Linked DNA regions of Homo sapiens: regions 2, 3, 4 and 5 are each linked to region 1. The links are contacts of gene promoters, found by promoter capture Hi-C in blood cells and fetal thymus (Javierre and others, 2016). All regions are on one chromosome and are shown on one strand. The core of a region is centred on a gene start or on the middle of the fragment in contact, and the rest is flanking DNA. Distances in the headings are between cores, read along the strand shown. Region 1 holds the start of STARD6 (StAR related lipid transfer domain containing 6). Region 2 has its middle 54 kb from the start of MEX3C. Region 3 has its middle 28 kb from the start of MEX3C. Region 4 overlaps MEX3C (mex-3 RNA binding family member C). Region 5 has its middle 12 kb from the start of MEX3C.

Region 1 (5,048 bases), core at 1,546-4,045:
TTTAAAGTGCGTAGCAGTGGCACTACACGATCTGACCCCTGGCTTCCTCTTCAAATATACCTCCTACCAGTCTTCTTCTTGTCCACTTAGCTCCAATCATTTGATCTCCTGGCTGTTCCTCACATACAATAAAGCAATTTCTGACTTCAGGTTCTTTGTACTTGCTGTTCCTTCTGCTTGTCACTGTCTTCTGCAATGTGTTCATATAACTGACTGTTTCATAGGTATCTTTGCTTAAATGTCACCTCCTCAGATAGGATCAAGTTTAAATCAACTCAATTTAAACACATTGAACCCTGCTTGAAGTTAGAAACTGCAATGGACTGAATGTTTATGTCTCCCTAAAATTCATATGTTGAAATCCTAACTCCCAGGGTGATATTAGGAGATGATTAGGTCATGAGGGCAAAGCCCTTATGAATGGGATTAGTGCCCTCACAAAAGAGACCCCAGGGAGCTCAATGGCCCCTTCTTCCATGTGAGGACACTGCCAGAAGTTAGCAGTCTGCAACCAGAAGAGGGCCCTCACCAGAACCTAACCATGCTGGCACCCAGATCTCAGACTTCCAGGATCCAGAACTCTGAGAAATAAATTTATTGTTTACAAGTCATTCAGTCTTTGGTAATTTCTTATGGCAGCCCAAAAGGACTGAGACAGGCACTGTGGTAGATGTAGCAACAACAGTTGAGTAAGATACTAGACATAACTATTACTGCTGTGAATGAGTTCCGGAAGCTGCAGTCTCACTGGTCCTTCGGGTCATCATCCAGCTTTCAGTTAGGGGAAGCTGGCAGGTAAGGTGAAAACAGAACTGGATTCAAATCCTGACTTTGTCACTTAGTACAGCTATATTATTTTGGATAAATTGCTTAACCTTTGAACTTCAACTTCCATATCTATAGAATGGGGATAATAATATCTATCTCACCGAATCATTATAAGGATTAGTTGAGTTAATATATGTAAAAATGCTTTAAACAGTGTGGAGCCCTATACTAGGTTATCAAAATAGTTAGTTTCTCTTTAAAAAAATGGACACATATAAATCCATCATTTAAAAAACTCTCCAAAGATCTGCTTCCTTAAGCACTTAAATAAACCTTCTTAAAGTTTAATTATTGGAACATTTCTTCCTTAGCTCTCACTTAAAACTCTTCAGGTTGGATCATAAATCTATTTTCTCTTATTTAATTCTCCAGCAAGGCACAACAGGTAGTTGATAGTCTCTATATTTGAAAAGTTTTAGTAAACCATTATTATAACCTCCTCTTTCCTAGCAGAGTCCTGGTTTCTTTACCTTTCCTGACAGATCTAATGCAGAATTTTAGTAACTACTGGGGCTCCTCTCCAAATCCTTGTGGAAATCTCCATATCTCTTAACCTGTGAGGAAACAAGGCAGAAGTAGAATTATTTTGATCCATGAATTAGGTCAATATATTTGATAATTTTCTTTATATCTTCTCAGTGTCCTTTATCTATACTTTGTCTTCATTAGGAAACATTTGCTACATATATGCCCCAAGATGAAAGAAAAATATAGTACAAAAAACTTTAAAAGATACTGTTTATAAAAAGAATCTTTAAGAAACTATTTTAAAGGAACTCAGTTTAAAAAGACACTTAGGTGGAACGTGGATACAAAAATTTAAGTTTTTAAGCTTACGTCACTAACAATTAACAAGGATTGTTAATCCCCGACCAGGGCTCGTCTTAGCATATAAAACACCGTTCTTGATTTCCTATTGGAAACCTACTTGATATTAATTGATCTAGAGACTTTGAAGATTATTGGGACATACCACTAGCAGGGTATGTCTTATTTTCAAATCACCAACTATTACTGCCACAATAGACCTGTGTTTAACCACTAAACTGAACGTTATAGCTTCCGGACTTTTTCATTTGCTAAGAGAAAAGGGAAGGTAAAATTTAGTAGGCTACAAAGGGTAAAAAGAAGAAAGTGCAAACAGTAAGACTACAATTGTATTACATGGTGGTGGAACGTCGGATGAGCTGGAACATATTCAGATGGACTCATGGTCAAGGATATCTTCACTCATAGGGTCAGTGGAAAATAAACATAAACCAACATTGGGATGGCCTCTTTTTTTGATACACCAATTGGTTGAAACTGGATTCCTTCCAGACTTACAGACAGGTTCACACATGTTAGTGAGTCTTTACATCTGTTTGTACAATGACCCTCTTTCTGAGCTGCCTGACTGGGTCCCCAATCCGTGCGGGGTCACTGCCATTCTTCCCTGGGAATCAAGGCTTCCTAGGAGTTTGTTAAATCCCATCCCTGGCTAAACTCGGGTCTCCAATCTCCCATCTGCTTTGTGTGTGAGAGGCTCCGGGGTGTGAGAGGAAAGGCACTGAAGAGGGAGTGAAAGAAGTGGTGAGGGGGGACTGCCTACTAGCTGAGACGATATCTTATTTTTGGCGGGGGATGCTCTGGAAGCGGGGAGGCTGAACTCACTTGGAAAAACTGGAGCTGTGGGGCAGACTCTCAGCGACCGGAACGACAGCCGCCAGCGCCCTTAAGTCTCCCTCCCCACCCAGTCCCCTCCCGCAGACCCCGGGGCCGGCTGAAGGGAGATCAGCAAGTCCCCGCGCAAACTGGCCGAGAATAGCTGTGACGGAGGTTGGAAGGGCGTGGGGGGCAGCGACTTGGATGCAGCCCACATCCCCCCATTCCCAGCCCCAGAAAGGAGGGAGAAACAGCACCTTCCAGCAGGGGTCGCGACCTAACGCTCAACAGCATCCTCTCTTCTCCGGCCGCTCCCTCATCTCCGCTCGCGCCCGGCGCCCCACTGCCGCGCATGCGCACCGCAGGCCGGCGCCATGTTGGGGCGGTTTGAAAGCGAGCGCGGGTGTCGAGCTCTGCTGTGACTGCGGAGGAAGCTGCGAGTGAGCCGAGCCTGAGGCGGGGCGGTGTCCGGGTTGGGGATGCTTTGTGGTGTCTCGCGTTGGGTAACAGGCCTGAGCTTTCGGCGGAGAGCTGTGGAAGTGTGCGGTTTTTGTTTTTGTTTTCCTTTATTTTTATTTTGGGGCCTTAGGGGTGAGTTAGGACGGAAAGGAGGGTGTCTTTTCGAGGGTTGTCCCATCCTGTGACAGCCGAGAAAAGGCGAAAGGAGAGTGGCGAGGAAAGAGGAGGAGACGTCTCCTGAGGGAGGGCGCTTGTGGAGTCTCTGTGGAAGGAAGAACACTGTAGGGGGAGTGCCCCCTGGGCGAGGGAGGGTCGCGGGACGCGGCGGAGGGGGCTCACACGGGCGTCTGCGGACCTGAGGCGGCGACAGGAAGGGGCTTGCGCTCTGGGGCTGTCGCTTCGGAACACTTCTCCTTCAGTCCATTGCTGCGCTCGCCCTGGCTGCTGAATAAATGGTTTCGGAGTGAAAAGCATCTCACTGAAGAACTTGTCTGTGTCTGTGACTGACGGGCGGTGGAACACCAAAGGGAGGGTGTCGCCTGATTGGGACTGGAAAAATTGGAATTCAGGGCGCCCGGGGTAGGGGAACGATGCGCACTGCTGGAGACGGGCGACCTTCGCTGGCCGGTCGGTGGGTTCCTGGTTTTCTGCTGCCGAGTAAACAAACGTTCCCTTTCCTAACTTAGCAGTCACAGAGCTATTTCCAAGAGTTGTTCTTAATTTCCTGTGCGATATTCCCATTGGCTATTTAACACTGAACATTCTGTTTTTGAATCAAAGTTAGTTAAAATTTGTTGTCAATAAGTTTAACATTCTGTTCTTCCGCGTGATGGATTTTCTTTTGGAGATTCGAACTGAAGCCTGTACGGAGGAAATGGTAAGATATATGGGATTTGCATGAGATATGTGGGGTTCAAAATAATCCTGTGGCTGAAGTGGGGAGAAGTGGGTGGGTCCCTACCCACTTTAGCTACAATTGGGGTCTGTTCAGCGATTGTTGGAAGCAGGATGATGAGTACATAGGGGTTTATTGAACGATTCTACTTTTGTATACTCTTTTGGGGAAAAGTTGGAAAACTTTTCATAATGAAACTTAAATTGTGCATTTTCTTTTTGTCTGTCCTGTGAGTTGAAATAACTAGTAAATGTTATCACCCACTTACGGAGACCAATACAACAGCTTTCTCTTTCAAGGTTTTGTAAAATAAAATCAGTAGCCTGTTCGGCATTCAAAGACAGAAAACATTTGGTCAGGCTTATCCAAACAAATTTACTTGAGTGAGTTTAAACTTCTTTAAATAAAAGGGATACGAAAAAGGTAAAGCTGGCTTAGTTTAGCCATTCGTCAGAGATATACCAGTATTACAGAATTCAGATAAATCAATGAGACGAAACAACTGTTACCTTATGTTCTGCCATTTGCACTGACCACGGTCAGATCTCTTGTAATGGCCATTGCATGCTCTAACGCTGTGGTAGGATGATGTTTTACTTTGTCTCTTATTTAATTAGAAAACTTTCGATGTTTTAAAGCCAAATTTAATAGTTACTAAGATTACATTAAAAGTTGTTATAACAAATATTTCTAAAATTATAGCCAAAAATTAAACATTATAACATCATAGCATATGTTAAGTCCTCAACATTAATACTTTTTTAGTATAGGAAATCCATTCATTTAATTTTAAAAAGAATGTCATCATGGACTGAATTAGTGCCGGTTCGTTCTGTGATTTCTTAGGTTTTCAAATATACATCCTGTTACTGTACTGAGGTAGACAGGGATTCTCTCAATTTTAATAATGGAAAAACAGAAGAACACATTGAGTTGATTTTCACATTATTTAAGCTTCCTTTGAAAGAGGTGAGCTGAATCCATTTAACATAAGAATTGAAAATAGGGAGGGTGGTACCAAAAACGAAGGTCAGGAAATGATTAACTATTTTAGGAAAAGTGTATATTGCTAACTCATTCCAGAATAAGACCTGCAGTTTATTTACAGTTAAATGTTGTAAATGTACTAGCATTTATAACATTGAAAGTGAATATTCTCCATTGTTCTTGTTTTGAATACTTCATTTGATGGCTTTAAAAAATTTATTGAGCGCTATTATCT
Region 2 (5,048 bases), core at 1,900-4,399, 3.2 Mb before region 1:
TGGGCAAAGAAATAGAACACAGTACTATTTCCTCTGAAGTCCCCTGTTAGCCCTCCCCAGTGCCATCCCTGCCCCTTAGCCTTCAGAGGTAACCATGTCCCTGAATTCTGTATTGATCAGTCTACTTTTCTTTTAGTTTTACCACATATGTTTGCAGCCTGGACGAGCTTGTTTCATTTTGCATTTTTGCATTTTTACATTTTCAATAAATGGAAATATACTCTAAGTACTTTTCTGCAACTTGGGAGATTAATCTATATTGTTGCATATAGTTCATTCATTTTCAGTGAGTACAGATTGTTTTCAGTGCTATATAGTATTCCATTGTATGAATATATTATAATGTATTTAACTATTTTATCATTGTTGGACAGCTGCATTGTTTACAGTTTTCTTTTTTTAATATTACAAGTGAGGCTATTATGAACATTTTTGTATAAGTCTCATAGTGTTACACATTGCCATTGAGAAAAATATCTGAGAGAGGAATTTCTGGTCATAGAGTATGTACATATTTAACTTTACTAGATGATGTCAGTCTTCCAAAGTGGTTGTATAAATTTATACTCCCACCACAGTCTTTGGAAGCTTCCATTGATCCTCTTCCTCATCAACACTCAGCAATTCTTGTTAGACTTCTTAATTTTAGCTGCTGGGTGGGTGAGTAATAGTGTCTCATTGTAGTTGTAATTTGCATTTTGCTGATTACCAATGAGGTTTAGCACATTTTCATGTTTATTGGCCATTTGGAAATCTTTTCTGAAGTGCCTGTCGATTTAATTTTTTTTTTCTGTTTGTCCTCTGGTGCTAAAACTGAAAACATGTTCAATACTTTAGTCTATTTTTCTACTGGGTTTTTGATGTCAGTTTTTGGTAATGCTTTCTACATCCTAGAGATGGGACCTTTAGTATGTGCAGCAACGATTACCGCCAATTCCTCGGCTTGCCTTTTCATTCTCTTCGTGGTGTCTTTTGATGAACAGGAGTTCCTAAATGTAATGCAGTCAAACTTAGCAATCATTTCCTTTATGTTCAGTACTTTTTGTGTTCTGTTTGTTTCCCTACCCTGACAGCATGAAGATATTTTCCTATATTATTTTCTGGAAGCAATCTTGTTTTGCCTTTCATCTTTAGATCTACCATCTAGATTGATTTTTGTGTATGTTGTGTGGTAGGGTCACATTTCTTTTCCTTTTTCATGTGGATATCCATGGAGCTATTGAATAGAAATAAGTACCCTTTTCCCACTGTCCTGCAGTACTGCCTTTTCCATAAGTGTGCATGTGCCATAGATCCATCTCTATCCCATTGGTGTATGAGTCTGTTCTCACATTGCTATAAAAAACTTCCCGAGACTGAGTAGTTTACAAAGAAAAGAAGTTTAATTGACTCAGCTCCACAGGCTGTACAGGAAGCATGGTTGGGGAGGCCTCAGAAAAAATCATGGCAGAAGGTGAAGGGGAAGCAAGCACATCTTACCATAGTAAAGCAGGAAAGAGAGAGCAAAGGGGGATATGCCACACACTTTTCAACAACCAGATCTCGTGAGAACTCACTTACTATCACAAGAACAGCAAGGGGGAAATCTGCCCCCATGATCCAATCACCTCCCACCAGGTCCCTCCCCACATTGGGAATTACAATTTGATGTGAGATTTGGGTGGGAACACGGAGCCAAACCATATCAATTGGTCTGTCTATGTTTGTTATACAGTATAACAGTATAATGTCTTATTTTAGCTTTCTAATGAATCTTGCTTCCTGACAGAGGAGATCTTCTTCAAGATGATGTTAGCTACTCTTGAACTTTTGCAGTTCCTTATGAATTTTTTGTTTTGTTTTGTTTTTGTTTTTTGGGACAGAGTCTCACTCTGTTGCCCAGGCTGGAGTGCAGTGGCGCGATCTCGGCTCACTGCAACCTCCACCTCCTGGGTTCAAGTGATTCTCCTGCCTCAGCTCCTGAGTAGCTGAGGCTACATGCACGTGCCACCACACCTGGCTAATTTTTTGTATTTTTATTAGACGGGGTTTCACCATGTTAGCCAGTATGGTCTTGATCTCCTGACCTTGTGATCAGCCCACCTCAGCCTCCCAAAGTGTTGGGATTACAGGCGTGAGCCACTGCACCCGATCTCCTTTTGAATTGCAAAATCACCTTATCTGGGCCTGGTGTGGTGGCTCACACCTGTAATCCCAGCACTTTGGGAGGCAGCGGTGGGTAGATCGCCTGAGGTCAGGAGTTTGAGACCAGCCTGGCCAACATGGTGAAACCCCATCTGTACTACAAATACAAAAATTAGCCAGGCATGGTGATAGGAGCCTGTAATCCCAGCTACTTGGGAGGCTGAGGCAGGAGAATCGCTTGAACCTTGGAGGTGGAGGTTGCAGTGAGCTGAGATCGCACCACTGCACTCCAGCCTGGGCTACAAGAGCGAGACGCCATTTCAAAAAAAAAAAAAAAAAATCACCTTGCCTGTTACCACAAAAAGGGAACTTTGATTGGACTTGCACTGAATCTGTAGATTGGTTTTGGAAGAATTTATATCTTTACAATATTGAGTCTTCCAATTTCTGAGCATGATATCATTCTTTATTTAGTTAGATCTTTTTTTCAGTAATGTTTTTATAGTTTTAAACATAGGCATCTTGAACATCTTTTGTTAGAATTATTCCTAGGTATTTAATTTTTTTGATGCTGTTTTAAAATTTAATTTCCAAACTACTGCTGGACCCTAGAGATGCAACTGATTTTTATACTGATCTTGTATTTCAAAATCTTGCTATACTGGTCCTTTCTGCATTTATTGAGATAATATGATTTTTCACTTTCATTATGAAAGTGTGGTAGATTATAATGATTGATTTTCCAAAGCTGTCACTCTTGCAGTCTGGAAATAAGCTCCACTTAGCCATGATACATTATCCTTTTTATATTATATATCATTGGATTTGGTTTGCTAATTTTTTAAAGGATTTCAAAAATTGATATTAATGACACTGGACTTAACATTTTCCCTTTTTGTAATTTTGCTGTCAGGTTTGGTATCAAGGCTATGTTTTAAAAAAATAAGTTTCGTACAGTGGCTCATGCCTATAATCCCAGTACTTTGGGAGGCTGAGGTAGGAGGATCACCTGAGGTCAGGAGTTCGAGAACAGGCTGGCCAACTTGGCAAAACTCCATCTCTACTAAAAGTACAAAAATTAGCTGGGCGTGGTGGCGAATGCTGGTAATCCCAGCTACTCAGGAGGCTGAGGCACGAGAATCGCTTGAACCCGGGAGGCAGAGGTTGCAGTGAGCAGAGCTCATGCTGCTCACTGCATTCCAGCCTGGGAGACAGAGCGAGATTCCATCTCAATAAATAGATAAAAATAAAAAATAAGTTTGGAATTATTCCTCTTTTTCTATTCTCTGGAAAAGTTGTGTAACAGTAGTGAAAGGGTTTCCCTAAAAGTAAAAACTTACCACTGAAGCTGTCTGGAAGTGAAGTGTTCTTTGTGGGGAAGGATTTAATAAGAAATTTAATCTCCTTGATATATATGGACTATTTAGATTTTCTATTCTTGTGTCAGTTTTGATTAAGGGGTATTTTTGTTAAGAAGTTGTTCATTGTCAATTTTCCAGTGTAATGCCCAAAGTTGTCATAATATCCCCTTATCATCTTTTTTCTTTTCTTTCTTTCTTTTTCTTTTTTTTTCTGAGATGGAGTCTCGCTCTGTTGCCAGGCTGGAGTGCAGTGGCATGATCTTGGCTCACTGCAACCTCCGCCTCCCAGGTTCAAGCGATTCTCCTGCCTAGCTGGGACTACAGGCACGAGCCACCACACTCAGCTAATTTTTGTATTTTTAATAGAGACAGGGTTTCACCATGTTGGCCAGGATGGTCTCGATCTCTTGACCTTGTGATCCCCCTACCTCGGCCTCCCAAAGTGTCTTTTCTTTTTTCTGTGAGATAGTCTCTCTCTGTCACTCAGGCTGGAGTGCAGTGGCAGGATCTTGGCTCACTGCAATCTCTGCCTCCATGGTTCAAGTGATTCTTGTGCCTCAGCCTCCCCAGTAGCTGGGATTACAGGTGTGCACCACCACATCTGGCCAATTTTTGTATTTTTAGTAGAAATGAGGTTTCACCATGTTGGCCAGGCTGGTCTGGAACTTCTGGCCTCAAGTGATCCGCCCACTTTGGCCTCCCAAAGTGCTGGGATTACAGTCATGAGCCACCACGCCCAGCTCCCTTATTATCTTTTGAATATGTGTGGTATCTGCAGTGATGGCTTCTATTTCATTCCTCATGTTGGTTGTTTGGATTTCACCCTTTCTAAATTACTCAGCAGCTTATTGATTGATTTCTTTCTTTCTTCTTCTTGTTTTTTTGAAATGGAGTCTCATTCTGTCACCCAGACTGGAGTGCAGTGGCGTGATCCCAGCTCACTGCAACCTCTGCCTCCACCTCCTGGGTTCAAGTGATGCTCCTGCCTCAGCCTCCTGAGTAGCTGGAATTACAGGTGCGTGCCACCACACCCAGCTAATTTTGTATTTTTAGTAGAGATGGGGTTTCACCATGTTAGCCAGGCTGGACTCAAACTCCCAACCTCAGGTGATCCACCCCCTTCGGCCTCCCAAAGTACTGGGATTACAGGCGTGAGCCACTGTGCCTGGCCATTGATTGGTTTTTTTGAACAAATAACCAATTTTCAGCATTGTTGAATTCTCTATTTTATTTGTTTTGTATTTTATTCGTTTTGTTTTTATCATTACTATTTCTTACCTTCTACTTTTTTGGGGGGTTAATTTGCCTTCTTTGAAAAAAAAGTTTTTTTTAGAAGAATGCTTAGATCGTCAACTTTTAGTATTTCTCCTTTTCAGTTGTGCAATTAAAGGTATATATGTCTCTCTAGGCATAGTGTTGGATGCATGCCACAGGTTTAGAGATTTATATTACATATTATTACTTGGTTCAGAAATATTTGGTTCTGGCCGGGCATGGTGGCTCACTCCTGTAATCTCAGCACTTTGGGAGGCTGAGACAGGAGGATCACCTGAGATCGGGAGT
Region 3 (5,048 bases), core at 1,276-3,775, 3.2 Mb before region 1:
CCATTGTGGAGCTTGCTGGATCAAACCAGTGTGACATCAAAGCCCTACACAGGTCCACTGGGTTTAGCTCCAAGTGGTCTTAGCGCGCCCTTAGAACACCCTTAGAAAGTGGATCCAGATCTGGGAAAGAAGACCAAGGACTCATACTTAGGTGTCTTTCTATGTTGTTAATGGAAGAGTAAACTAAGGATGTCCCTCTAAGCCCTTTCAGGACTTAGCCAAGAGGAGTCTCCAAAGCCCCGTGAGACAGCATCCCCACAACCCTTTCTAAGGCCTGAAGGTGATGGTTCTGAAGTCCTCTGGTTCCTTCCTGGAACAAGGGTCAAATAGGAAAACCACAGAAAAATGAGACTTCCAAGAAAAGTGCAGGCATCCTAAGTTTTCAAATAAAATCTTACTTGAAGCCTAAGAAAATGGATTCAGGCAGCTTAATTCTTGTTTGTTCCATGCACAACCTATCTTTCACCAAATAGATTCTGAGGCAACTTGATGGGGCTGCTGGTAATAGGCACTGTCTGAGGTGGGAAGTGCAGCAGGCCCGGGCCTGGGTGACTGTAAAGCAGGCCCTCAGGACACAGTGGTCTGGCTGCCTGGCAGCAAGATCTCTAGAGAAAACCTGGGAAGTGCAAGAGACAGCTTTGTAAAGGGGTCCTCGGGCTTAGGAACCCCGACTGTGGCATTTCAATTGGAATGTGAGGAAGCAGCACCCAGCAGGGGTGAAGAACATGCACATCAGAATGGCCGAATGCCATTCTTTGTCTCATTGTGTAACCCTGGGCAAGTTCATTCATCTCTGAGATGGGGCTCTCATCTGTAGGAGGGGGTACTACTTCCCTCATAGAGTTTAAGGATTAAGTGTCATTGTATATGAAACATTTAGGAGCATGCTTAACTCAAGTACTCAACCTAGAACTTGCTTAAGCCTTGGACTGGCTAATGAGGGTTTGGCTTTCAATGTCAGAAGGCATTTGTGATGGTCACAACTGTGTGTGTGTGTGTGTGTGTGTGTGTGTGTGTGTACTACTGACATCTAGTGGGTGGAGGCCAGGGATGCTGGTAAACACCCCATAGTGCACAGGACAGCCTCCTACCCCCCAACAAATTATTCACCCCAAAATGTCAATAGTACTAAGGTTGAGTACCCCTGAGCTAAAGGGAGAAGTTGAGGTTAGCCCACCCATACAAGGGGAGGTGGGTAGGAAACAGGCTTACAAGTGTCGGATCTGGCAGCAACTTTAAACTCCTGCAGCCGTCCCCGGAAGCAGAACCAACCCTCTTCTCAATTGGTACACTTTTAGCAGCTATAAGTCAAGGGTATGTTAGAGACACTGGGATCAGAATGAAGACTCATAGGTCAGTGGACTGATTTAAATAGCCTTTTGGAAAGATGTGAAAAAGCAATAGAAAATGGGCCAGAACAGAAAAGAAGCTAGGGGTTGAAATGTGGTCCAGGTCACTTGAAGTCAGGAGTTTGAGACCAGCCTGGCCAACATAGTGAAACCCCGTCTCTCTCTAATAAAAATACAAAAATTAGCCAGGGGTGGTGGCGGCCGCCTGTAATCCCAGCTAATCGGGAGGCTGAGGCAGGGGAATCACTTGAATCCAGGAAGCAGAGGTTGCCATGAGCCGAGATCACACCACTGCACTCTAGCCTGGGTGACAGAGCAAGTGAGACTTTGTCTCAAAAAAAAGCAAAAGCAAAAACAAAAAAACAAATGTGGTCCAGGAAGAAAAAAAAAAAGCATCACATAGTAATAAAATATGAGGTCCATCCCCCATTCTTGATTTTTCTCTCTAGGACAAGGCAAACTACATACTCAGAACTACAAACACTTAAGTCAATGGATTTGCATTATTCTAGAAAAAGACCAATCCTTCAAAAAGTCAACAAAGTTATCTGGCTGGGCCACTATCTGCTCATGCTATGGCATCAAAGATGAAACTAAAAGTAAAAATTCTGACTCCACCAAAGCTTTGACTGATTTTGACATTTCATTTGCTTGGCAAGGCAAGTGCTCACTGGATCAACAAATCGATTCTGAAACAATTATTTGTGCCTTAACTAGCTCAAGCTCTTCATGATCATGACAGTCTGAGGATATGAATTAATCCTATCATTAAAAAGGGCCACTGAAATATTTTGATTGGCATGCCCAGTTAAATAAAAAATGCTCACATTTGCAAGCAACTGAGGCATTTTCCATGGAATCTTCTGAAAATGCCTTTAGACTTGGGAATTTTTACCTTAAGCCTGTTACTTATTTTTTACTCTTTATTAATTTTTACTCTTAAGCCTCAGCTTTATTCTCTGAAAAATGGAGATAATACTTCCACCTCTAGGGCTATGGTAAAGATTATGTGAAACTATGCACCTGAGTTCACTTTGTACTAACTGGGCCACACAACTAAAGGTAGTGCTTCAAACCCCAAAGGCTTTTCACTTTTACTTTACACTGCTCTTCCAGAGCACTTCAACAGTATTTTCAGGGTCATGCTGGATTTTTAAAAGAATCAGAACAAGAGGATGCTACCTATGAAAGTAAATTATGTACTTCACAGCAAGCATTTCTATGCCTTAGTTTCATACTTAGGTTTCAGGCAGTTCTCAGAGGCAATTATTTCCATTTTACAGATAAGGAAAATGAGATGCAAAATATTAATCTGCAAAATATGGGATTAAGTACCCTCTGACAAAGCCAGAAAATAAGGGAACTTGAAATGGAAGCCCAAGTTGGAGACTACAGTGAAATTCTACAACTCCCATGCCTTGACACCTTTGTAGGGCTAGCCCAGGAGCAGTTTCTAGGTGTAATGACCAGGATTTGGAAAGCATAGGAAATGACTGAAAAATCAGATGTACTCTAAAAGGTGACACACTAAATTCCCTTCATTGGTCTACTTGGATTTTAAGACCCCAGGGGGAGAGAGGTGTGGAGTCCTGATTCTATCTTTTCTCGGGAAGGGGTGGCACCTAAGGGTGTCTAAGTAGTGGTGACGGTGGAAGGGATGGCAGAAGGATGCTATTCCTGGGGAAAGTTAAAAAGATAAGGGCACCATCTAAAGTAATAGGAACATCAAAAAAGCTTGCCTACTAGCAAAGAAAAGGGACCATTTCTGAAATCCTTGACCACAAATACAATCTTCAACATAAGGATGCATTTTTGAAAAAGCACTTGGAATCACCTGCTTAGGAAAACATAAAAGACGACTGACTCAAGAGTTCTCACAAGTTTCTAGTCATGAGAATAAGATCTTTTCATTGGATTATGTGTGGTTCAAGAAAAGCCACTGGGAACAGTCCAAGAGAAGCAGATTTTGGAGTTTGCTTTCTCAAATTCAAATGAGATGGCAGCTCTCAGAATATGAATTCTGAGAACCTTCACCCATCCACTGATGACACAAACTTAGAAAGATCTGCCTAGCCTCTAGATAACTAGAGCTTCCAGGATTTTTTAAAAAACATCCTAAGTAGGCTGGGCACAGTGGCTCATGTTTGTAATCCTAGCACTCTGGGAGGCCGAAGCTGGAGGATCGCTTGAGGCCAGCCTGGGCAACACAGTCTATCTGTCCAGTATTTCTCTGTTGTTTTAAATGGTCTTTCAGAAAATTTTACTTCAACAATACTAATAATTTTTCAATAGGTATTGCTATTTATTAACTCTATGATCACATTCTCCTGTCACCTAATAAACCTGGCTAATTTACACATGTTGGGCATTAGCCAAATCCACAAATTATCAAGTATTCCCTCAATCCTTTTTGAAATTTTAGCTTTCTAGAGACAGGGTCTCCCTGTTACCCAGGCTGCTCTTGAACTCCTGGGCTGAAGTGATCCTCCAGCCTCGGCCTTCCGAAGTGCTGGGATTATAGGCATCAATCAGCCACTGCACCTAGCCCTAGTTTTATCGTTAAGGTATAATGCCTAGCACTTCACATCTGACTCAAGTAGACTTGAAACCACTACCCATTCATGTCCCTTGTGATACTTTGGTAATTTCCCTGAAATTGCAGAAACAGATCATGTCAAAAGTTCCACTCAGTGTTTCTGATCTTGAAAATGTCATGAAACAGATATAAAAGCCTTAATGCTTTAATATAGGGGAATATCTACATTTTATTTCCAAATTTTAAGTAATTACACTCAGTTTCAGGATTAAATCAGAAACCCTCAGATTTTCCATTTTGAATACAGGCAAACTATTGCTGACTTATCCAAGAAGATTCTAATTTAGAAGAACCACCATCTGACTTACTTTATGGTACAGGTCATGTTTGTATCCTTAAGTTTTGTGCAGCCCTGAAGATGGTGTGACTGATTTGTCCCATCCTCATGCTCCATATTAATATATGCAGTAAATTATGCATAACACTGCTAGCAGCTTTGGGTAAACTGAAATGTTACTGGTAGGAATTGAGCAGATTTATATAATCTTGATTCTCATTTACTGCCTCTTCTTAAACTAGCAAGCCTCTTCTTACTAAGCCAGTTCTTTTCAGTTTTTGTTTTAAACTCAGCTGAATACTGTAGTTCCTTCTTAAAACTTCCACATTACAAAAGGAAAGTACTTACGCACATGCTTTTAGAGATTGAAGATTTATCATTTAAAACACATTCAAAGGCAGCAGGAAGTCTATTTTTACAGCTCATTTAGTAATCAAGTTACAAATATCCCCATTTTCCATGAGACTAATGAGGATCTAAACTCACCCCAAGGGCTTAGAAATGTGTGGTTTCTCTTCAGCCATTTTCCCTCCCAATTCCAATCTCTGACCAGTGAACTCCATTTACTATTTAAAATATCTAATCACTTATCCTCCTTATGAAGTTTTCCTGACTGGTGTACAAATGCTATCCTTTAAAATGCAGATAAATGAATATGGAGGCAGTAGAAAATCTCAATGGCGGGAACATTTCTTTCACAATTTTCAATTATTCCATACAATCAGCTGAAGAAACTTAATAGGAAGAGTTACTCTGATATACCCGAGGGGGAAGGTATGCCACTTTAAAGAGAACAGCTATTTTAAATCTTTACTAAATTGAATCT
Region 4 (5,048 bases), core at 768-3,267, 3.2 Mb before region 1:
AGTAAAAATTTACCTTATCTGATATATAATTTATCATCTCTGTACTTTCAATTGTACTGTCAATTTCTACTAATGCTATCTTCTCAGACTTGATCCTCACAACAAATGAGGGAGAGGGGAGAGAGAAACCTGGAAGAACAAGTAGATGAAGTAGGTTTTTTCCAGAAGAGAAAACAGGCTCAGAGAGGTTAAGTGATTTATCCAAGGTCACAGGCAGCAAGTGCAAAACACAAGGTTTCTAACTCCAAGTCCAATGTCCTTTCCTGCATTATACTAAATGGCACTGGTAGAAAGGCAGAAGAGAAGGCAAAGGGAAAGGGAGGCACAGAGAAGGGAAATAATAATAAAAAGGTCAGCCCCAAATGCAAATATATACTTTTACATTGGTAACCATTTTGGGAGATCTTTTCTAGTTGTTTGAAGCCATTCCCTCCCCACTTCCCCTTCAATCATGTTCAAGACCAAATTACTTATGCTTACCTTCAACTACATCTGCAGTTTTCATTAAAGGATTTTCTTTTATTATTTTAAGGCTTAGTCTTATTATTCCATGATAGACTTTACTTGTGACCAAACCAGGCTTCTCTGCATGCAATGAGGAATTGTAGTCCGTACTTACCGGACAAGGGCAACAAACACTTGAAGTGTCCTTACATCTCAAACACTGGCATGGAAGAGGTCCTATAGTTAGTGTAACTTAAAATTCTCAAAGTCAGTTATAGAATAAAGACTTGAACTACTCAAACAGTATTAGACTATGCATACATTCAATTTAGTATATCTGGGTTTGGTAATCCTAACATTAGAAAATTATTTTCAAGGCTTAAATATCAGATTTAATCTTTGTAAGTCTCTATATAGTAACTAATGGTAGCATGGGGAAAATGTTAAAAGTAAATCCACAAATTATGGCATATAAGCTACTTGGGAAGCATTAAGAATGCAGTTTAATAAAAAAGGTATCACTTAAGGATCACCTGAATATCAATGGAGATTTAAACATAACTATCCATGATCTACTTGGAGCTTCTTAAAAAGCTTTTTTTATTTTTAAGTGCAAATACACTCCTTTAGTATCTTATGAACATTATCTACTTTCTCATCTTGAGTTTGGTTACAAATTCTACATGGCAGGAATGACACTGTTTAGAATTCTATAACAATCCTATAAATTATAAAATAGTACTGTAGTAGTCATCATGGCTCTCCTTGTGGGCACATAGTTGTCATATACTTTCTCAGCCTTTTGAAGTTAGGTGTGGCCAGATGATTTGCTTTAATGAAATATGAGCAGATGTGATAAGCATTACTTCCGGATCTAACATTTTAAGACCAGTATGTGCTATGCTGTAGTCTTTCATCTTCTGGCACAACAGAAGATCAGTAACACTGGAGATGGTGGCTGCTGTTGGCCTGTGTCCCTGAATGACTAAAATGAGCAGAGCCCCTATGAACAAGAAATAAACCATAGTTGTTTTAACACTGAGGTGTCAGAGTTCTTTGTTAACCACAGCATAACAAGCCCATCTTGACAGAAGTGCCAAGTATCTAAAAGGCATTCAGATATCCGTTGGTTCTAGTTCTATTACATTGGAAGAATATAATGAGTCAAACTATCTGCTAAAGCCAAAAAAGGTGGACATGATTAAACGGTGGTTCCAAATTAATTTCAGATTTACCTTAACAAAAGTAATGTGCTTAGCACTTACAGTTTCATATATGTCGATTTCTTTATCTTCCAGAGTCTCTACAGGAATTGTAGATATGATTATGCCCAGGTGCAAAAGAGGAATCTGAAGCCTAGGGAGTTTAAGTGACTTGTTCAAGATTACACAGTGAGTTATTGGCACAGGAATATCTATTTCTGATTTGGTTCTTTCCAATATACCACAGCTGAACAGAGACTGTCACAGGCAGTTTGGTGTAGCTACAATAGGTATTTTTACATATTGTATAAGCTACGATATTAAAATACACATACTAAAACATTTTTATGTTTAAGGCAAAAGTATTCAAAACCAAATCAGCAATATATTAAGCATTCCCTTATAACTAAATGCTACCTTTCCTTAAAAACTTACGCTGTAAAGAACCACCTAGAATTCCAACCTATAAACATTGTTTGAAAATTTTCTAGATAGAAATCTCTAACAGACTAACACAAATACTTGGTTCCCTGGATCATTTTCAGGTTGTTGGTAACCAAGGGGTACAAAATACACCCTTGAATTACCACTTCATTTCCCATTTCCTCCCTAGTGAATCAGAATAGTTCATTAGCTGAATAAGGCAGGAAGAAAGGCAGTAGATTCCCCACCCATTTGCAAAAACAATTACAGTAACTGAACCCTTCTCAAGGGTCCCAGAACTAATACAAACCATTATTAACGAAATTTAAATTTTAAAGCCTAGAAAAATTGTAATATTTAATTTTTAAAGCTAGTGTCTATATATATACGCAAATTAACTTTCTGTACTACAAATGACAGTAAATTTTTAGCTGGACACATTAGAACTATATTACAATTAAAACTGTGCCTTGTGGGTAGTACAGACACCAAAATTTTATCAAGTAAACTAATTTGGATAGTGGTATTTTAAATTATGCATATTAGAAATTCAGTATCCTACGATTAGGGCACAAGTTAATCCAAAATACTAACCTTCCAGAGCAGAATGCTTCAATACTGAAGTGGCAATGTAGAGTACAAAGAATTTTATTTCTGATGTCAAACTATGCTAAATCCAATCTCAACTATTTGAGCAAGTTAGCTCTCAGAACCTCTGTTTCTACCTCTCTAAACGGCAGTAACCACCTAGCAGGGTTAAACGGCACTGGTGAAGCACCTAACATAGTACTAAGCAAAGAGAAGTCCAACAATGCACCCTCATCCCCATAAAAGAAAAAGACACTGTGCTGTAGCATCATTCTGAAACTATTTATTCTCATGAAATATGTACTTCTCCTTGAAGAGAAAATTTATGTACAGCAAGACCAAGCTTTCTCTTTTTCTCCTGGTCACAGACGTATAAACCCTATTTCAGTTGTGTTAGAGCTTGAAGGGTGGTTCCACCCTAAGAAATTGGGAAGACAAATTGAAACAGTGTAAAGTATTAATTGTTAATAAAGAATTTTGTTTTATAATGTGTAATATATTAAGCACACTTACTATTCATACATAAATATCCAGATATTGGGAGTATGCACATTTTTTTTGGACAGGGTGTACAATAAAAAGAAGCTAGAGACGACTTTTCTAGACTATGTGGCTAGAGAACACACATAGACCATTAATTAAAGTCTAATGAAAGATACACATTTATCCTAATAGTAATACAAAATCTTGGGTTACAAGTCTCTAAACAACTGAATTTATGACATTTAGTATTAATTTATAATGTATTAAGAATGGGTATACAGTTCTATTTTAATTCACTTTTTAGTCTAAATGGATATAAATGACTGTACAAATTGGAACAAAACCTGCTGACTAAAATTAGACCTGTTAATCACTGTTAATATGTCTTGCAGGTACTATACTTAAAAACAGAGACGTTCTAAGTTTATAAAATTAGGTCTTAAAATCTGTTGTCAGGTTTATTTTTGATGTCCATATTCTAAAACTTCTTTGATTATATCAACAAGCCTCTTCAGTTCCTGGCTTTATTTTACAGTATTGTTGTTTCACAACAGATGCAATGCTTTAAAAAACAAGGCCAATTTAACATTTACAAATGACCATATGCTACTGGGGAGTATAAATTCGAGGTCAAACACTCTGCCAACTTTCATCAGTATCAAAAGCGGTAGTTTGTGTTTTAGAAAAACACTGGAACTCAGAGGCCATCTACATGAGTTGCTAGTCTATGTGACTCAGAATTCCATTTGTCCTGCTCTTTGCTTCAGAGCTGAAGTCATAAATGTCTCCATCTGTGACATAATTATTTCCAAAATCAATTAAGAGATGTCAAATAGAAAATTATGGCTTCAGGTAATACATAAAATGGCAGAAATGGATAATTTAATCTTAAGGATGAAAGTTTAGCTCCTTCAAAGCAAACAAGAAAATGAAATGATTTGCCCTGTTTTACTTACTTAGGACAGATTCTCTCCCGTGGGGAAATATAATACTGTAAAAGAATGTGAACATTAGAAGTCACTTCGTTCTCCATACGAGTGAGCAAACACTTTACAGGTTTATTACTATGCTGCTGGGACATGGGGGTGGCAAAGGGGTCAATGATCCACAAGTTGTATGGTTCAGAACAGCAAAAGGACCAGATTTTCTGCTTTTAAGATAGAGGATGATGACATACTTTTAACAGTATTGTCAACTCTGGGAAAATACAAGGTTTAAATGGAAGAGCCAGCAATTTGTCTCCATGATCTAAGACATAATTAAATTCAACATTTCCTTATTAACCAAATAAACACAGCCCTCAAAAGAAAAACTAAGGCTTTATCTCATTTCCTATCACGTAATAGCTGGTACAAAATAAAAACTTGGAATTCACTTTACTTTTAAAAAACTGATTTCTATAAAGATTAACAACATACACAAGTAAGGGCCATTTAGCAGTGCTTTAAGGGGTGTCTACTATAATGAAGGACTAAAGTTTGTATTAAACTAAATCTATAAAATATGTTATCTTGTCCTTCAGTAAAACTGGCACGTAAATGTTTTCTTCCTTTGTTACCCTAGACTGTTACCATAAGCACACGGAAGCAACTTGTCCTGAGAAGTGGCATCTTCATATGGCATTCAGGCTTCTTCACATTCTGGTGTGAACGCCTGCCTTCCCCCTTTTCCACCACTCCCCTTTACAGACCTCAAGTATCAAAACAACACTACTTGGCAATTATACCTAGGCTAGTCCTCCACACCCCTCCTCACATTGTTCCTCCACAGTTTTTCAATCTCCATTTGTTAGACTCCTTCCTACCCATTTTCCAAGGCCCTCTCCATAGATGTTCTCTTACCTGAGACTTTGTCATACTAAATACACTATAGTTAGTGCCATTCTACTGTTTATTAGACTGTTATCTT
Region 5 (5,048 bases), core at 834-3,333, 3.1 Mb before region 1:
GACACAGCTAAAGCACACCTGAGAAATTTATGGCACTAAAATATATTAGAAAAAAAGGAAAGGGTTCAAATCAATAACCTAAATCCCCACCTGAAGAAACTAGAAAAAGAACAAAATAAACCCAAACAAGCAGAAAAAAAGAAACTAATAAAGTTAAGAGCAGAAATCAATAAAATTGAAAATATGGAAATAGTAGAGAAACTCCATGTAACATATGGATCCTTAAAAACATCAATAAAATTGCTAAACATTTAGCAAAACTGAGAAAAATAAGAAAGAAGACACAAATTATCAACATTGGCAATGAAATGGGATCCCACTATAGATCCTGAAGCCATTAAAAGCATAAAAGGAGACTACCACAAACAACTTTATGTTCATAAATTCAACAACTTGGAAGAAATGGACCAACGTTTTGAAAACTATATAGTACCAAAATTCAACCAAGATTAAACAACCTAAATATTCCTATAATGATAAGGAAATTAAACTCATAACTGAAAAGCTTCCAAAAAAGAAATCTAGAGTTCTACTAAAGATAAAGAAGACATTAAAAAGTGCCTGTACTCTCACCACTCTGCGATAGTTTCAGATAACATGATTCCTGATGATCTAATGGTCAGGAAAAAAAGAAAAATGAAAAAAAGGCTGGAAGGCTGGGTGCCAGTGGCTCATGCCTGTAATCCCAGCACTTTGGGAGGCCGAGGTGGGTGGATCACCTGAGGTCAGGAGTTTGAGACCAGCCTGACCAATATATTGAAACCCTGTCTCTACTAAAAATACAAAAATTAGCCGGACATGGTGGCGCACGCCTGCGGTCCCAGCTACTCAGGAGGCTGAGACAGGAGAATTGCTTGAACCCAGGAGGTGGAGTTTGCAGTGAGCCGAGATCACGCCACTGCACTCCAGCCTGGGCCACAGAGCAAGACTCTTGTCTCAAAAAAAAAAAAAAAAAAAGGGAAAAAGAAAGAAAGAAAGATAGGAAAAAAAAGGAGTTAATGTGAAATGATCGTTTTCTTAACTTCTAAGATTCATTGATGTAGAACTGAACTTCTCTACCACTGTATTCTAACACTGACAAAAATGTCAATTTGCCATTATAACCTAACCTATGGAATACATCTTCCAGAGACCGTGGGGGACATGCAGTAAAGGGGAGTTGGCTGCTTTTTAGCTTAAAAATCACTTATCCTGTTAGTGCCTCATTTTCTTCACAGATAAAACATGAATTCATTTATTTATCTAACAGATAATTACATAGCCTCTACTATGTCCCAGGCACTGTTCTAAGTATCTGGAACACATTCGTGAACAACAACAAAAAAGATCCCTTCTTCTGCAGAACCTACACATTCTATAAGGGGGGTGGGGCACAAAAGTTAAACAACAATATATAACAAAATAAATTGTACAGCATGTTAGAAGGTGATAATGCTATATGAAAAACAAAGGCCCGGAGCAGTGGCTCATACCTGTAATACCAGTCATATAGGCTGAGGCAGGCAATCACTTGAGGTCAGGAGTTTGAGACCAGCCTGGCCAACATAGCGAAACCCTGTCTCTACTAAAAATACAAAAATTAGCTGGGTGTGGTGGCATGTGCCTGTGGTCCAGTTACTCAGGAGGCTGAGGCAGGAGAATCACTTAAACCTGGGAAGGAGAGGTTGCAGTGAGCTGAGATTGTGCCACTGCACTCCAACCTGACTGGGCAACAGAGCGAGACTCCATCTTAAAATAAATATATATACATATATATATACACACATATATATATATATATACACACACACATATATATATATATATACACACACACACACATCTGTATATATATAAACAAGAGTGCAATATGGTAAGGAGGATATCAACTACAGGGGTCTTGGGCAGGATCCTGACCCACGATGGTGGGTCAGGGTAGGCCTGATTGAGAGGGTCATGTCTGAGCAAAGATTTGCAGGTTAAGGAGTTAGCCAAGGGGGTATTTGGGGAAAAAGTGTTCCAGGAAGAGCCACACATCTAGAGTGAAGGCTAAATTAGGAGTGGAGCATGCAGAACTTTTAGGCCATTTAAAGGACTTCATTAGTTGTGCCTGGTGGTGCACACCTATAGTTGGAGGTATGGGAGAGGCTGAGGTGGAGGAATTGCTTGAGCCCAGCACTGCAGTGAGCTGAGGTGGTGCTACTGCACTCCAGCTACTGCACTCACAGAGTGAGACCCTGTCTCTGTTAGAAAAAAAGTAAAAAATTAAAGGATTTCAGCCTTACTCTGTGGGAAATGAGAAGGCATTGCTGAGTTTTAAGCAAGGAATTGGTACCAAAAAGGAAAAAAAAGTGATACTTATATATAAACATGTTGAGAATTGAGTGTAGATGACACAAAGAGGAGCAGAGTGACAAGAAACAGTGGGATTTGGGACACACTTTTGAAGACAGTGCCAGCAAACTCCAAGGTTTTTGGCCTGTGCAAGCAGAAGATGCTGTTGCTCTTAATGGGGAGGGCTGCAGGTAGAGTGAGTCTGGGGTAAATGTTTCTAGGGTTTCAAGGGTTTCATGACAGTCGGTGGCTTCTGTTGTAGCTTGAATCTAAAGGTCACTTCTCTGATTTGGTGTTTCTCACCATCTCTCCTGCCAATCCTCCTCTTTTTCTTTGCAACCCTCTAAGTCTTAGCTTTAGAGGTGGAAGGTCAACCTAATTCTCTAGGCAGGCAACGGCTGGTTCCCTTTACCTGGAGAGCCTAAATGTAAATCTCTCTGCTAAAACCTCTCCCTCAGGGCACTGGTTCTTAGGGGAGGTGGTGACTTATTTATTTTGGGTCAGGTGTAGGACTTGTTGAGTTTACAGTGGATAGAATGAATTTTAAAATATGTCAACGGTTCACTAGGACCCGAGTTGAAACTATTAACTTATTTTATTCAGGTCTTTGTGTAATTGTGATAGAGACATCGATCCCTCTGGTCAGGGTTGCATAAAGTCGTTGCACAGTAAAACTTCCCAAAGGCTACATTTTTATGTTTCATTTTCAGACTGTTGGTGTCACAGGAGCAATTAAAATTTGTGAATAATGTTTTTTCCCCCTAGATGAATAATGTGGATGGCCTGCAGTCTGCTCATATTCCTGCCAAGGGATTTAACAGGCTATTGTGTTAGTAACAATGTGGATGCAAATTGTAAACATTTATCATCTCCTAAGTTTCATGCAATTTTCAAAGCCTTGCTAGTTAAAACAGGTACTCTAACCTCCAATATAAAACAATCTTTAGATCATTTTCCATATTCCCCAAACATATTTTGTTTTCCTGTAACTTCTATTTATTATATAAAGTAACATTGTAAAATCTGGTAGAAAGTAAATAGTAATGTTTAATAAGTTTAAGGTCCTCTAAAATTGATTTCGCGTCTCTTTAGATGCTATGAACTACTATTAAGGTACATCAATAAAACATTCCATATAGTGGTATTTGGTAGTAAATTCTCTATGCGTGTTTATTAGCGGTTTATTAGGAGGTAAACTAAATATTTGCTAGTGTAAATTTCCCAATAATTTATCTATACTCTCAGCATTTTACAACTGTTATGATCTTGACTCTTGAAAATTACCAATGTAATAGGAATGTCCAAATATTTGAGTCTTAAGATCAAATTAATATTTTGCCAAAGGGGAAAAGCTTTTCAAGAATTATTATGACTTGGCATGGTATGGTGGCTCACACCTGTAATCCCAGCACGATGGGAGGCCAAGGTGGGCAGATCGCCTGAGCCCAGGAGTTTGAGACCAGCCTAGGCAATATGGTGAAACCCCACCTCTTCCAAAAATAAAAAAAAATTAGCTGGGCATGGTGGTGTGTGCCTGTAGTCCCAGCTACTTGGGGGGCTGAGGCAGGAGGATTGCTGAAGCCCAAGAGGTTGAGGCTGCGGTGAACTGTGTTCACATCATTGCACTCCAGCCTGGGTGACAGAGTGAGACCCTGTTGGTAATACAGCCCCTTGGAGGAGAAAGACACGGATCAACAAATATTGACTAACTTCTTACAAGTTATTGTACCAAACATATGGGGAATACAAGGAAATATAAGTCATGCACTAGACCACAAAAGACTCATAATCTAGGTGGCAGAATGGTTGAAAGTTAGAATGCACGAGGGCATGGAAGGCAAGGATCTAATAATTCAGTGGATGCCAGAGAAACATATTGTAGGCATTTTGAGAAGATATAATTAAAAAAAAAAGATAGTAAAGTCTTGACGGAAGTAGTGAAATTAAGCAGACATTTAGGGGAGGTGGACTCTAAATGGGTAAAAAAGAGGGGGAAAGGCAGTTTCTTGGTGAGAATTACCACAAGTAAAGACACAGAGGCAAAAGAGAAGCCCACAGACTTGGGAGCCTCAGGGGTGGGATTGGGAGGTGAGTAGACACATCTGATTACAATGAGGGATTGATATATGGCAACAAGAGGAAGCAAAACCTGGAAATTTGAAAAGGCTAAGGGGTTTAGACTCTGCTTGGAGGCCCATCTACTGTGGATGGGTTGGTTTCTTGTGTAAAGATTCAGGCAGAGTAGCGGTTAAGTCCCAGCCTCGCTACATATGAACAATGCATTACTTAATGATTTAACTTCTTTGAACTTCAGTTTCCCTTCCGTACAAGGGAGATTATATCTGCGAGCAGAGTTGTGAAAGCTGTGTGAAATAACAGTTCATTGTGATCTAGCCAAGTGAGTGGTCATGACATTAGTGGTCACTTCCTCTCTGTGGTAAGTGGGTGGGGCAGGGAGGCCACACTAAGGGCTTGTGAAGAGGAAAATGACATCATTGAAGGGATAGATGTGAGGTTTGGGGACTGTTAATTTTGTGATGGTGTGCAGAATGAACTGAAGAAAGGGAGTGTGTGTGTGTTGGAGGTGAAGGGAACATTAGACCACCCAGGAAGAACCGGGGCTGGAACTGGCTGTACTGGCTATGACCAAGCCAGCAGAAATGATGAAGCCAGCTGGGCATGGTGGTGCACACCTGTAATCCTAGGTACTCAAGAGGCTGAGGCTGAAGGATTGC

The links. The method cuts DNA at HindIII sites, captures the fragments that hold promoters and counts their contacts. A CHiCAGO score of 5 or more calls a contact.
Region 2: a fragment that was not itself captured here is called in contact with the fragment with the promoter of STARD6 in region 1 in 1 of 17 cell types (non-activated CD4 T cells); the score reaches 6.0 in non-activated CD4 T cells.
Region 3: a fragment that was not itself captured here is called in contact with the fragment with the promoter of STARD6 in region 1 in 1 of 17 cell types (naive CD4 T cells); the score reaches 6.1 in naive CD4 T cells.
Region 4: a contact is called between a fragment that was not itself captured here and the fragment with the promoter of STARD6 in region 1, in 6 of 17 cell types (total CD8 T cells, naive CD4 T cells, total CD4 T cells and 3 more). The highest score is 12.9, in total CD8 T cells.
Region 5: a fragment that was not itself captured here is called in contact with the fragment with the promoter of STARD6 in region 1 in 1 of 17 cell types (non-activated CD4 T cells); the score reaches 5.9 in non-activated CD4 T cells.

Annotation. Positions count from the first base shown.
Region 1 is chr18:54,355,063-54,360,110 of GRCh38, forward strand. STARD6 (StAR related lipid transfer domain containing 6) reads right to left here and starts at 2,796. Exons shown (of 8, transcript NM_139171.2): 1 at 2,730-2,796; 2 at 1,299-1,382. C18orf54 (chromosome 18 open reading frame 54) reads left to right here and starts at 2,844. Exons shown (of 9, transcript NM_001288980.2): 1 at 2,844-3,013; 2 at 3,712-3,808. RefSeq lists enhancers at 3,348-3,859, 3,361-3,430. The HindIII fragment of the contact is 3,120 bases long and covers 1,659-4,778 here.
Region 2 is chr18:51,140,854-51,145,901 of GRCh38, forward strand. No RefSeq gene overlaps it. Among named protein-coding and RNA genes, the nearest start is that of MEX3C, 54 kb to the right of the region's middle. The HindIII fragment of the contact is 5,127 bases long and covers 587-5,048 here.
Region 3 is chr18:51,167,508-51,172,555 of GRCh38, forward strand. No RefSeq gene overlaps it. Among named protein-coding and RNA genes, the nearest start is that of MEX3C, 28 kb to the right of the region's middle. RefSeq lists an enhancer at 649-1,229. The HindIII fragment of the contact is 1,111 bases long and covers 1,971-3,081 here.
Region 4 is chr18:51,189,988-51,195,035 of GRCh38, forward strand. The region is part of intron 1 of MEX3C (mex-3 RNA binding family member C); the gene reads right to left. Among named protein-coding and RNA genes, the nearest start is that of MEX3C, 5.2 kb to the right of the region's middle. RefSeq lists a silencer at 4,712-5,006. The HindIII fragment of the contact is 1,962 bases long and covers 1,037-2,998 here.
Region 5 is chr18:51,207,070-51,212,117 of GRCh38, forward strand. No RefSeq gene overlaps it. Among named protein-coding and RNA genes, the nearest start is that of MEX3C, 12 kb to the left of the region's middle. RefSeq lists a silencer at 4,730-4,829. The HindIII fragment of the contact is 3,160 bases long and covers 504-3,663 here.